4 separate regions of the Homo sapiens genome follow, and all the other regions are linked to region 1. Evidence: promoter capture Hi-C in human tissues and cell types (Jung and others, 2019). All regions are on one chromosome and are shown on one strand. Each heading gives the region's core, a stretch centred on a gene start or on the middle of the fragment in contact. The rest is flanking DNA. Distances are from core to core; before and after follow the strand shown. Region 1 holds the start of SEPHS1 (selenophosphate synthetase 1). Region 2 overlaps FRMD4A (FERM domain containing 4A). Region 3 overlaps FRMD4A (FERM domain containing 4A). Region 4 overlaps PRPF18 (pre-mRNA processing factor 18).

Region 1 (2,832 bases), core at 232-2,731:
GGAGGGGAATTGTGTGGCTATCACTTCCTTTTAAATTACTATCTTCTCAAGAGTTTTAAGGGTGGAAAAAAGTTTAAAACACCTTGTATCAGGAAGGCGCTCAGATTTAAAATTCCAAATGGTACTAAGGACACAAATCAGCCTCACATCCTAATGAAAAAAGTACTAGATTCTTACATTTTTGGAGGGCATGGGAAGGGGGAGGGGGTTCTGGGGGAAATGTGCAGTGATTAGGGAACCAGGGGGATCCATTTGCATTAATAAGGGACGGTGCCCGGCGACCCCGCAGCCACATGTTTACGCCTTTAAAACAATGGCATGAATATTTAAAGCAACGTTTAGCCCTTTCCTTCCCGGGCACATTTCCATGGTTTGGTTTTTTTTTTTCTTCCAACGAGCGTGGGGAGCCGGGGAGCCGGTCAGCGGGGTGGGCCCGGCGCGCTGCCCCGCCAACCCCGGACCTACCTCCCCGCCGGCCCCGCACAATGGGGCGCGCTCTCCAGGACGCCCGCGTCGGAGGCGGCCGGGGAGGGGAGCAAGGAACCCGGGGACACCTTCGGGCTCAGGCTCAGGCTCAGGCCCTCGCCGCCGCCTCGGAAGGCCCAGCAGGCCCGGGCTGCGGGCCGGCGGCGGGGCGGAGGCGGCAGCTCGGGGCCCCGGCCGGGCCATCCCTGTTCGGGCCGGCGGGAGGCGGCGGGAGCCGGCGGGCACCGCGCGTGCGGCCCAGGAGCCGGGGAGGACGCCGGGACGCACCCGCCCCGGGTCGACAGGGCCCGCGCGGAGAAAAGGGGAGGCGGGGAGGCCCCGGAGGCACCCCGCGACCCCAGGCCGGCCGCTCCCGCCGCGCGCACGGGCCGCCGCCGCCGCCGCGCAAAAATGTCGGCGGGCGAAAAAATTAACCCCTGCGTGGCCGCCGCCGCCCTCCCCTCCGCTCCTCCCCGCCCTCCCTCCCTCCTTCCCCGGCCCCGCGCGGCGGCGGCGGCGGCGCGGGCGGCGCTTCTTTTTTAAAGCGGCCCCACCAAGCCCGGCGCTGCCCCTCTCCAGGCAGGGCTGGCGGGGCCGGCGGCGCGCGGCTCCCCGGCGGTCCCGGGCGGCCCGGAGGGGGATTTGCAACGGCCGCCGCGGGCCTGCGGACCCAGATTCCCCTTTAAGCCTGCGCCTCCCCCCCGCGCCGGGCCCGCCGCTTACCGGCTCGCTTTGCGCCCTCCGCCTCCTCCCGAAAACGGGCCGCGGGCCGCTCCCACAATGCACCGGGCGCGGCCGGGCTCCCTTAAGCGTCGCCTGAATAAAAATGCCGCGCCCGGCGGCGGCGGCGGCGGCGGGGGCCCGGGCCCGCGCCTGGGCGCCGCGGGGGCTCGCCTGCCTCGGCGCGGCCCTGCGGGAGCCGGGCCGCCGCGCTCCCGCCGGCTGGGCGCGCGGGGGTCCTTTAAGGCCGGCCACCTCCCTTTAAGAGGCGGCCCTGGCTGCTGGGTGGCGGCGTGCGGCCCGGGAAGGGGGCGGGGGCGCCGTGCAGCCCCGAGCGCGGCAATGATTGGTCTCGGGGGAGGGGTGGGGGGTTGCAAACCCGAGGAGCGGTGGCATCCGTTGCATGATGCAAAAAAGGATTGATTTCAAAAGTTGCGAGTTGCATTGGCAGCCGCCCTTGGCGCCCGGGCCACCTTTTTCCCGGGCCCCGCTGCAAGGGCCGGGAACGTTTCCGCCACCTGGCCGGGCTCGACCGCGCGGCGCTCTGCGGGGCGCTGTCCCCGCTCCCCGAGTGCGCAGCGGAGCGTCCTGGAAGACAATGACCATGGGAACAATTTGCACAGGAGGCTAGGAGCCCAGGAAAAGCCGCCTGGGCGCCAGGCAGAGGTTTTTTGAAAACACAAACGGCGCGTTAGATGCTTGGGGACTCCCAGCATCTGTCCTTCCTATTGTTTAGCTCGGCTCCGGAGTTCACGGGAGCCTCGTGAAATGTGGAGACGTCCTGCAAAGTTTCTTGAACACTTCATGTGCGTGGTAGGAAGTCGAGGAAAAAGGTTTACGGTTCCCCGCTGGTTGCATTGTTTGTCCTGCACATGTTCGAGCGAACATGGCAGCCGCAACCCTGGATGTGTTCGAATTGACATCGAGGGGGGAGCTTCACGTCGTGAAATAACTTTTTTCTGGGCTTTCGAGATTCTAAAGCATTGCTGATGAAAATAAACCAAATACTTTCAGATATCGTTTAGGGCTTCTCTCTAAAACAGCAGTGTGCAGGAATGCCGATCGAACTTTTCTAGGCAGTAGGTCAGCATTTTCCAAATGTTATTTGGGAGCAGAAATGTTTTGGGTCACTGGACCGTGCTTTACGTGGCACGGCAGGTTGGCACGCTACGCAGATGCCCTTTTCGTTAACATTTCCGCTTGCCAGTTGCTCCGGGTTTTAATCCTGGGCTGGATGCAGAAGTGATGCCACCTCGAAGACAGGCTGCTCCTGTCTTTGTGTACTTTCTTCATACCCTGTAGTAAGTTTGCAAAGAACGTGTTAGTCTGCATTCTTTTATTTTATATTTATTTATTTATTTATTTTGAGACGGAGTCCCACTCTGTCGCCAGGCTGGAGTGCAGTGGCGCGATCTCGGCTCACTGCAACCTCCGCCTCCTGGGTTCAGGTGATTCTCCTGCCTCAGCCTCCCCAGTAGCTGGGATTACAGGCGCCTGCCACTGGAGGATGGCTTCTCCCAGAGGGGAAGACAGGGTCACGGTTCTCATTAAGAGGGTATTGTACTAGTCAAGCCCGGAGATGTACTTGAACTGAAAGCAAGGGGAATGCAGCCCAGGGAAGGGATTTGGTGTGATTTAGCACGTAGG
Region 2 (2,832 bases), core at 234-2,733, 400 kb after region 1:
ATGCTTATAATCCCAGCACTTTGGGAGGCCAAGGTGGGAGGACTGCTTGAGTCCAGGAGTTTGAGACCAGCCTGGGCAACATAGCAAGACTCCATCTCTTTAAAAATAAAAATATAAAAAACAGCCAGGTGTAGTGGTTTGCACTTGTAGTCCCAGCTATCTGGGAGGCTAAAGTGGGAGGATTGCTTGAGCCCAGGAGTTTGACATTAGAGTGAGCTATGACCATGCCACTGTTCTCCAGCCTGGGCAACAGAGGGAGACCCTGTCTCAAAAACCAAAAGAATAGAAAAGAAAAAGAAAAATGCAAAAAGTTCTCTTGAAAAGCCAGTTGCTAAACTGAGAATAACATCCAAGTCTTCTTATCTTTAATATGAATCAGTTTTTATTAAAAACTCTCCGGCAGTTATTAACGTTGCCAGGATAAAAGTGGTATCAATGCTGTATTGGTCTTCGATTTAGTGGTGTTTTTTTCTTTGAGATGATGTGCCTGTCTTCTGCAGCCTATACTCCTCACGAAACAAGGAAAGTTAGAATGATCTACTGGGGAAAAACAAAGATTTCTAGCAATATATCAAATAGAGAATTTGCCACAGTGAACAGCAGATTTAACCAAGATGCCACAAAGTGAAGGGAGCAAAAATTAAACCTGAGAGGGAAGGATGAGGAAAATCCACAATGTGTTTGCTTTTCTTTAAAAAACCTGGAAATAACTTTTTCAAGAAAGTCCCCCTGGGTCAAATGAGATGTATGTAATTTGTGGGAGAAACTTGGGACGAACAGAATAGGCTTAGCGTGAAAGAATTCTTGCTAAAACCAGTCGTTTCTGTCTGCACTGGTACAAAAACAGCAGAGCACAAAACCCAGAATGTGATACTATCGTAACAGAAAGGAACAGCCTGCAATTCAGAAACAGTAATATAATGCTAGCATTGGCCTCACTCCTCCATATTTTATGAGCAGAATCATGAAGGTCAAGTTCTCAGGGGCGGGATATTTCATAAGTAGAGTGTTGCAGGTCCTTCATCCATTATCACAATTCCAAAATTCAAAAAGCTAGAGTCTAAGAAACATTTCTTAACCCATCTGGCGGCAAACTTCATCTTTTTGCATGAGGCAATGATGGACCTTTCTATTTGCGCCCACTTGCTGCGCATATCCATGTTTTGGGCTGGAGGTGTTGATGTGTTTAATTCCAGGTGCTGCCCTAGGCCCTGCCCAGGGTGTCGTACAAGCCCTGAATTACCTGCCTAAATCCTGCCAAGTTCTGAATTCGTAAACATTGAGACCCTAAAGTTCTAGATATACATACGTGGCTCTCTGTTCCTTTGTTCGATCATACAGTGGACCTAGAAAACTGAGACAGATTAATGAGGGAAGTTATAGATTTTCATTCTTTGCTGATCTTTAAGAAATCATGCAGGAAACAATCTTTAATTTCCCTTTCCTTTCTTCCTCCTCCTTTTTTTGGTAAACCAAGGTGAAGCTGAGGTTACAACAAAGAAAAGAGAGCACCTGCCTATCTCCGCCCAATCACATGCTTTTTTCCCCAGGTGTGTAGGAAAGAAATGTTGCAGGGGTCTTCCACCATTGGGTTGGGTCCCATCTGTCTGAGAAACTTTTCCTGCCATAGTGTGTGACCATTCACAGACAAAGGGAATCACTTGGAGGCCCCAGGAGGTTTTTCCAGCATGGGATTCTGAATTCTGGGCATGAATCATAGATAAATCACATGAATTTACCAACTGTTTGTTGGGGGCAACATTGCAAACACATTGATGAAATATGTACCTTTCTATTTTTTTTTTTTTTTTTTTTTGAGACAGGGTCTCGCTTTGTTGCCCAGGCTAGAGCGCAGTTTTGAGATCATGGCTCACTGCAGCCTCCACCTCCCAGGCTCAAGTGAACCACCTGCCTTAGCCTCCAAGCAGCTGGGACTACAGGTGCTTATCACTGCACCTGGTTAATTTTTTAAATATTTTGTAGAGATGAGGTCTCACTATGTTGCCTAGGCTCATCTTGAACTCCTGGGCTCAAGCAATCCTCCTGCCTTGGCCTCCCAAAGTGCTGGGATTATAGGCGTGAGCCACAGTGTCTGGCAGTGCCTTTATTTCTGTTGCTAATTGTTAAGTTATATAAGTAAGGATTTCTTCCTTGATTACCGAGTCTCGTTTTCTGGGGTGAAATGAAGTTTTATGAATTTCTAATTTATGTTAGGTATAAACATGTAAAATTTAAGACAAATTTAAAAATTGTTTCATAAGTCTACAATTTCAGGCAAATAATTTTCTCAAAAAGCCCAAGAAGAAACGATTAACTTTCTATATTTCTCAGTATCACCCTTTAGTTTCAGAATTTCCACTCTGAAAAACTGACACAGTACCATAGCCATGAAACGTTTTGCTGTTCACAGGTATAACTGAAAATATGATATTTTAATATGTTAAATAAATGCCTAACAAAAGAAGTAAGCTGTCATAATACAAAATTTCCTCCTTACTTGGCTTCTAAGCAATTCGCATAGAATTTGAAGAATATCATCCTGCAAAAAAAAAACTACCCTATCCCTATCCAAATACTTTTTTATGCTTTGAAAATGTGAATTACACACTTGAAAGCTCCATCAAATAGACTTTAGTGCACAAAACAAAGCTTTCTGTAACAATTTATAACTTTTCCACTTGAACATTTTGCTTCAAATTTTCACAGATTCTGTTCCTTTCAAAAGCTCTTGCTGGTGTGAAAGATTCCATCTGCTCTTCAATTACTCATGGCCCTTAAAGTCATTTTTAAATCATGGGAAAACGCCACACACAATTCTTTCGTGTGTGTGTG
Region 3 (2,832 bases), core at 183-2,682, 350 kb after region 1:
AGCTTCTCATTCTGAAGGAGCTACAAATAACCAACCAGCACAGCCTCCCTCCGCCCTGTCTTAGATCGTAGAATGGTTTCTTGATGTATATGCATGGAGAGCTGATGGAGGGAGGGAGGGAGAGACAGGCAGAGAGAAAGAAGGAGAGATTTCCTTAAATGATTTGCACAGTGACCCTGAAAGAAGAAAAAACCCGAGTGTCAGGGGAGCACCTGAACCCTCATGGCTCCCTACCCTTGCTGACTCGAACCACTAGACCTCACTTGTCTCTCTAGGGTTGATAAACATCATTTGGGAGGCCTGGGCTTTGCTGAAGCTCTTCAGAGAAAGGAATGGTTGGCATGTCCCAGTACAGTAGAGTGTGAGCAGTGGCCAGGATACCAGCCAGAACTGGCTGCCTAGAAATGTTATGAAGCTCTCTGTCCCAGCCCTGTCGGCCATCACTCACCCAGAGGCCGTGCTGCCCATCAGAGATCAATCACATCGCTGTTCTATAAAGAACATTCCAGAAACAGAAAGGTGTTGTAATGTAATTCCCAAAGGGTACGTCATCATCTCTGATTTAATTTGCGGGCCTTTTAGAGAATTTAAACTTCATGCAAGTGTTGGCCAGTGATAGTATGCTAGATTAACTATGACATTAGTAAAAGATGGCACGTATTTCCTCAAGCAATTTCACAAACGTGGTGCCATCTGACCAATCACTAATTGAGGTCAGGAATTTCCTTTGCTGCTAATTGGGGAAAGCAAAACACCAAGGATGAAAGACCCACCCGGGGTCCCAGAGCTGGAAAACAGAGGCCTCCAATTCCCACATAGAGGGTTGTGATCCTCACCTGTCACTGCAGGCTGGGGAACTGGTTCCTGTGAGAAGTGTGAGGGCTCTAGGACATCTGTGAGCATGCCAGGCTTCCTGGGAAATGTTCTCCTTCTCCTTCTGGGAGCGTGGGCATTTTCTTCAGTCCCCAAGGGTTACTTTTACAAAAGGGACAGCTGAAACATTCCTAATGCTATGGGGCATTTGGTTTTACCTCCTAAAAGACACGTCTTGTTGCTAATTTATCTACAATAATCTTTTTTTTTTTTTTTTTCTGAGATGGAGTCTCACTCTGTCAACCACGCTGGAGTGCAGTGGTGTGATCTCAGCTCACTGCAACCTCTGCCTCCTGGGTTCAAGCAATTCTCCTCCCTCAGCCTCCCTAGTAGCTGAGATTACAGATGCCTGCCACGATGCTTGGTTATTGTTTTTTTTTTTTTTTTTTTTTTTTGTATTTTTAGTAAAGACTGGGTTTCCCCATGTTTGCCAGGCTGGTCTCGAACTCCTGACCTCAAGTGATCTGCTCTCCTCGGCTTCCCAAAGTACTGAGATTACAGGCGTGAGCCATGGCGGCCGGCCAATAATTTCCTTTTGAGATATACTTGCTGTGTCAGTGAGTTGACCTGTTAGCCTGTTCAACAACAAGGCTTGCCAACTGCAGAATGAGCCCATCTTCCCGGGTGCAGCAGGAAAGCCATAAGAACAAGTTTCTTGAAATGCTCAAGAGACCGCCTATGCAAAAACCGGCGCAGAGAGGAGGAGCTTGAACAGCCAATGCTGTGCTATCCTCAGGGCGAGATACACCTTTTCCTCTGTCCACACTGTGGTACAGTGCGTGGGGGGTCTGCCGTCAAGGGGAACTGGCAGTGGGGTTCAGGAGCATTGCCCAATCCCCTAACCCCCACCATCCATCACCCAACCACAGAGGGTGAAATTAACGTTCTCAGGTGTCGACCTCCAACTGTTGCCCCTGGACAGCAAAACCCTGACACCCACCCACTGTGTCAATATCGAGCATGAGTCAAAAACACTTTGGCCCCATTTCTTTTGATCTAATCGAGCTTCAAATTCCTGCGCTAGGACTAGGACCCATCACTGCCAGGAGAGCTGCGGAGAATACTGTCATTATTCCTAACAACAGAAATTCTCTGTCCTGCGCTCATTCATCCCAGAAAATGACCAAAAAGGGGGTCAGAAAGTAGAGGACAAGATATTTTACAAAGGATAAAATGACGGCTGCGGGGGACAGACCCCAATTTAAAACTGAATTATGACTAAAGGGATTGTTTCATTTCGTCCTGTCCTCTTTTCTTCTTTTTTTTTTCTTTTAGTAGAGATGGGGGTCTCACTATGTTGCCCAGGCTGGTCTGGAATTCCTGAGCTCAAGTGATCCTCCTGCCTTGGCCTCCCGAAGCGCTGAGACTACAGATGTGAGCCACTGTGCCCAGCCCTGTCCTCTTTTCTTTCTCTTATCACCTCCCCCTTGACCCCCAATTCGCTCACTCTCCTCTTCCCCAGAAAAAGAGAAACCCCTTAAAATATGGATAAGATGGCAAAAGAGAAAGAACCCTAGAGGGCACCGATTCAGTGACTCTTGTGCCCAGTAAGTTGAGCATCTTGCCACCTTCTCCCAAGAACTCACGCGATGGAGGGAAATCCTCCGTAAGTGCTAGAAACCACTAGCCCAGGGGCCCAGGGTGACCTCAGTCTGTATTCCCCCAGCCCAAGCCAGCAGGATCTTGAGAGAAGCTGCAGGGCCATCTTGGCAGGGCTCTTCCCCTGAGGGAGAATGAATGGGAGTGGCTTGTGGGGGGCTGACAGGGGAGTCTGGGGAGACAGGGCTGGAGGAAGAGGGGGCAGAGTGTTGATATAAGCCCTGTGTGAACCAAGGAGACGTCATCCTCTCACCCACCAGAAAACGCAGCTGCGTGCCCAGAGTCAGGGGTGGTGACATCTCCTTGGAGGAAGTCTGTTTACCAAGGCCCCAGGCTCTAGGTCTACCTTAGGGAAACAGG
Region 4 (2,832 bases), core at 189-2,688, 260 kb after region 1:
GTCTCAAAAAAAAAAAAAAAAAAAAAAATTTACTGGGTATCTGTTTCACTTTGTAGGTCATCAGAAGATTGAGAGAAAGAGGAGAACCAATCAGACTATTTGGAGAGACTGATTATGATGCTTTTCAACGTTTAAGGAAAATAGAGATCCTCACACCAGAAGTTAACAAGGTAAGAGGACAGAACAAAGCTAGAAAAATACCACTGTACTGCATTCACTAGAATAGAGTTTGACTAATTGCATTATTGTAGGCAACAATGGAAAAGTAAAGTGAGCAGATTATTGCTGCTGAATGGAAGTTTTCATTAATTTTTTGAAAAGCTCATATCTTAAGTATAACATTTAATGCATTTTGACAAATACATACAAGCATATAACCATTGCCCTTATAAAGAAATAGAACATTTTCGTCACCAAAGAAATTTCCCTGAGAGCATCAGGAAGAATAGCGAATGGATGCTGGGCTCAATAGCTGGGTGATGGGATGATCTGTGAAGTAAACCACCACGACACACGTTTCCCTATGTAACAAACCTGTCATCCTGCAGCTGTATCCCTGAACTTAAAAGTTGAAAAAAAAGAGAAAAAGGAAATTTCCCCAGTACCCCTTCTCAGCCTATCCTCATATTTCTCCTCATCCCTTCCTGGGCAGCCACCATTTGAATTTTGTCATCATGGATTAATTTTGCTTGTTCTTGTATTTCATACAGATGGACTCATAGATTGTGTGTCTGGCTTCTTTCGCTCAGCATATCAGTTTTTAGGTTCATCCATGTTATTGCAGATACCACTGGTTTCCTTTTCATTTTCCAGTGATACTCAGTTGTATGAATATATCAAAATTTGTTTCCAGCTTTGGGCTATTAGGAATAAAACTGCTGGCTGGGCGTGGTGGCACAAGCCTGTAATCCCAGCACTTTGGGAGGCTGAGGCAGGTGGATCACAAGGTGAAGAGATCGAGACCATCCTGGCCAACATGGTGAAACCCCGTCTCTACTAAAAATACAAAAATTAGCTGGGCGTAGTGGCGTGTGCCTGTATTCCCAGCTACTTGGGAGGCTGAGGCAAGAGAATCACTTGAATCCGGGAGGTGGAGGTTGCAGTGAGCTGAGATTGTGCCACTGCACTCCAGCCTGGCGACAGAGTGAGACTCCTTCTCAAAAAAAAAAAAAAAAAAAAAAAAACAGGGATAAAACTGCTATGACCATTCTTATGCAGATCTTTTTTTGGAACTATGTTATTTTTCTTGGGTAAATAAATAGGTCTCTTGGGGAGATACCTAGAAGTAGAATTGCTGGATAATAAGAGTAGATGTATGCTTAACTTCATAAGAAATGCCAGTCATTTCCAAACCCCAGCATGTGGTATTGTTAGTCTTTTTAATTTTAACCATTCTCTTTTGTGTCTGGTAGTAGCTCTTTGCGGCTTTAATCACATTACCTGATGACTAAAGATGAGGAGCATCTTTTCATAAAGTTGTGTTCATTTGTGTAGTGTCTGTTAAAGTCTTTCTTTCCTTATTTATTTATTTTTTTGACACAGAGTCTCACTCCGTCACCTACGCTGGAATGCGGTGGCATAATCATGGCTCATGGCAGCTGCAACCTCCTGGGCTTAAGCAGTCCTCCCACCTCAGCCTCTCAAGTAGCTGGGATTACAGGCGCTTTTTGTTCATTTTAAAAATAAACTTGTCTTTTTGTAAATGGATTATAGGAATTCTTTGTATATTCTGGATAGAAGTTCTTTGTCAGATATACGAATATTTTTTGTGACTATTTTCTTGTAGTTTAGGGCTTACCTGTTCTCTTAATTGAATCTTTTGCTGAACAGAAGTTTGTGTGTGTGTACACACACGCTTTTTGAGACAGGGTCTCACTCTCACCCAGGCTGGAGTTCAGCATGATCATGGCTAACTGCAACCTCTAGCTCCTGGGCTTAAGCGATCTCCCACCTCAGCCTTCCAAGTAGCTGAGACCACAGGTGTGTGCCACCATGCCTGGCTGATTTTTTAATTTTTGTAGAGATGAGGCCTCCTCATGTTGCCCAGGCTGATCTTGAACTCCTCTACTCAAGGGATCCTCCCGCCTTGGCCTCCCGAAGTGCCCGGGCCAGAAGTTTTATATTTTAATGAAGTCCAATTTATTGTTTTTTCCTTTTATGGTCATTGCTTTTTGTGTCCTGCTTAAGAAATCTTTGCCTATCCCAAGATTTCAAATATATATTCTTAATTTTCTTCTAGAAGCTTAATATTATAGTTTTTGCTTTACATTTAAGGCTCTGATCTTGTTTTATGGCTTAGCATATGGTTTATTCCATGGGCTCTTGAAAAGAGTATTGTTTTGCTTTCATGGTACAGTTCTACAAATGTCAGTGATGATAGTGTTGTTCAGATCTTCTTTGGCCTTGCTAACTTTTTATCTACTTGCTTTCTCAATTATTGAGAGACAGGTGTGGTTACCTATGACTATGTAACAGACTACTCCAAAACTTACTAGTGTTTGTTTATTTATTATAAAGGATTTATCATTACCAAATCTGTTTTTGGTGATTAACAAGCCACCCTGAAACTTGATAGCTTAAGATAATTTGTTATTGTCTTAATAATTACCAGTTCTGTGGTTTTATTGGGCTGGATTGAGCAGTATCTTGCTTGGGGTCTTTATTGTGATTGCAGTCAGATGAAGGCTGCGGCCGAAATCATGTGAGGCTGCCTCTGGACTGGTCTTCTAAGCTGATATCTTGCCCCTTTCCTGGCGTCTCAGTTGGAATGGCAGGAACAGCTGGGGCTGGCCAGGCCCGCTCCCCGACCTGCTCTGTCTGCTAGCCTGGGCT

Evidence for each region. The method cuts DNA at HindIII sites, captures the fragments that hold promoters and counts their contacts. A contact is called where the count stands out against the background at its distance.
Region 2: a contact is called between a fragment that was not itself captured here and the fragment with the promoter of SEPHS1 in region 1, in 1 of the 25 tissues and cell types used here (thymus).
Region 3: a contact is called between a fragment that was not itself captured here and the fragment with the promoter of SEPHS1 in region 1, in 1 of the 25 tissues and cell types used here (lymphoblastoid cells).
Region 4: a fragment that was not itself captured here is called in contact with the fragment with the promoter of SEPHS1 in region 1 in 2 of the 25 tissues and cell types used here (IMR-90 fibroblasts and lymphoblastoid cells).

The regions. Positions count from the first base shown.
Region 1 is chr10:13,346,812-13,349,643 of GRCh38, forward strand. SEPHS1 (selenophosphate synthetase 1) reads right to left here and starts at 1,482. Exons shown (of 9, transcript NM_012247.5): 1 at 1,189-1,482. RefSeq lists silencers at 418-1,247, 1,378-1,597 and enhancers at 1,667-2,457, 2,458-2,832. The HindIII fragment of the contact is 27,088 bases long and covers 1-2,832 here.
Region 2 is chr10:13,751,747-13,754,578 of GRCh38, forward strand. All of the region lies in intron 8 of FRMD4A (FERM domain containing 4A), which reads right to left. Among named protein-coding and RNA genes, the nearest start is that of PRPF18, 170 kb to the left of the region's middle. The HindIII fragment of the contact is 4,931 bases long and covers 1-2,832 here.
Region 3 is chr10:13,697,981-13,700,812 of GRCh38, forward strand. All of the region lies in intron 14 of FRMD4A (FERM domain containing 4A), which reads right to left. Among named protein-coding and RNA genes, the nearest start is that of PRPF18, 110 kb to the left of the region's middle. RefSeq lists a silencer at 2,764-2,813. The HindIII fragment of the contact is 4,029 bases long and covers 1-2,832 here.
Region 4 is chr10:13,605,575-13,608,406 of GRCh38, forward strand. It overlaps PRPF18 (pre-mRNA processing factor 18), which reads left to right. Exons shown (of 10, transcript NM_003675.4): 4 at 57-170. Among named protein-coding and RNA genes, the nearest start is that of PRPF18, 20 kb to the left of the region's middle. The HindIII fragment of the contact is 3,146 bases long and covers 1-2,832 here.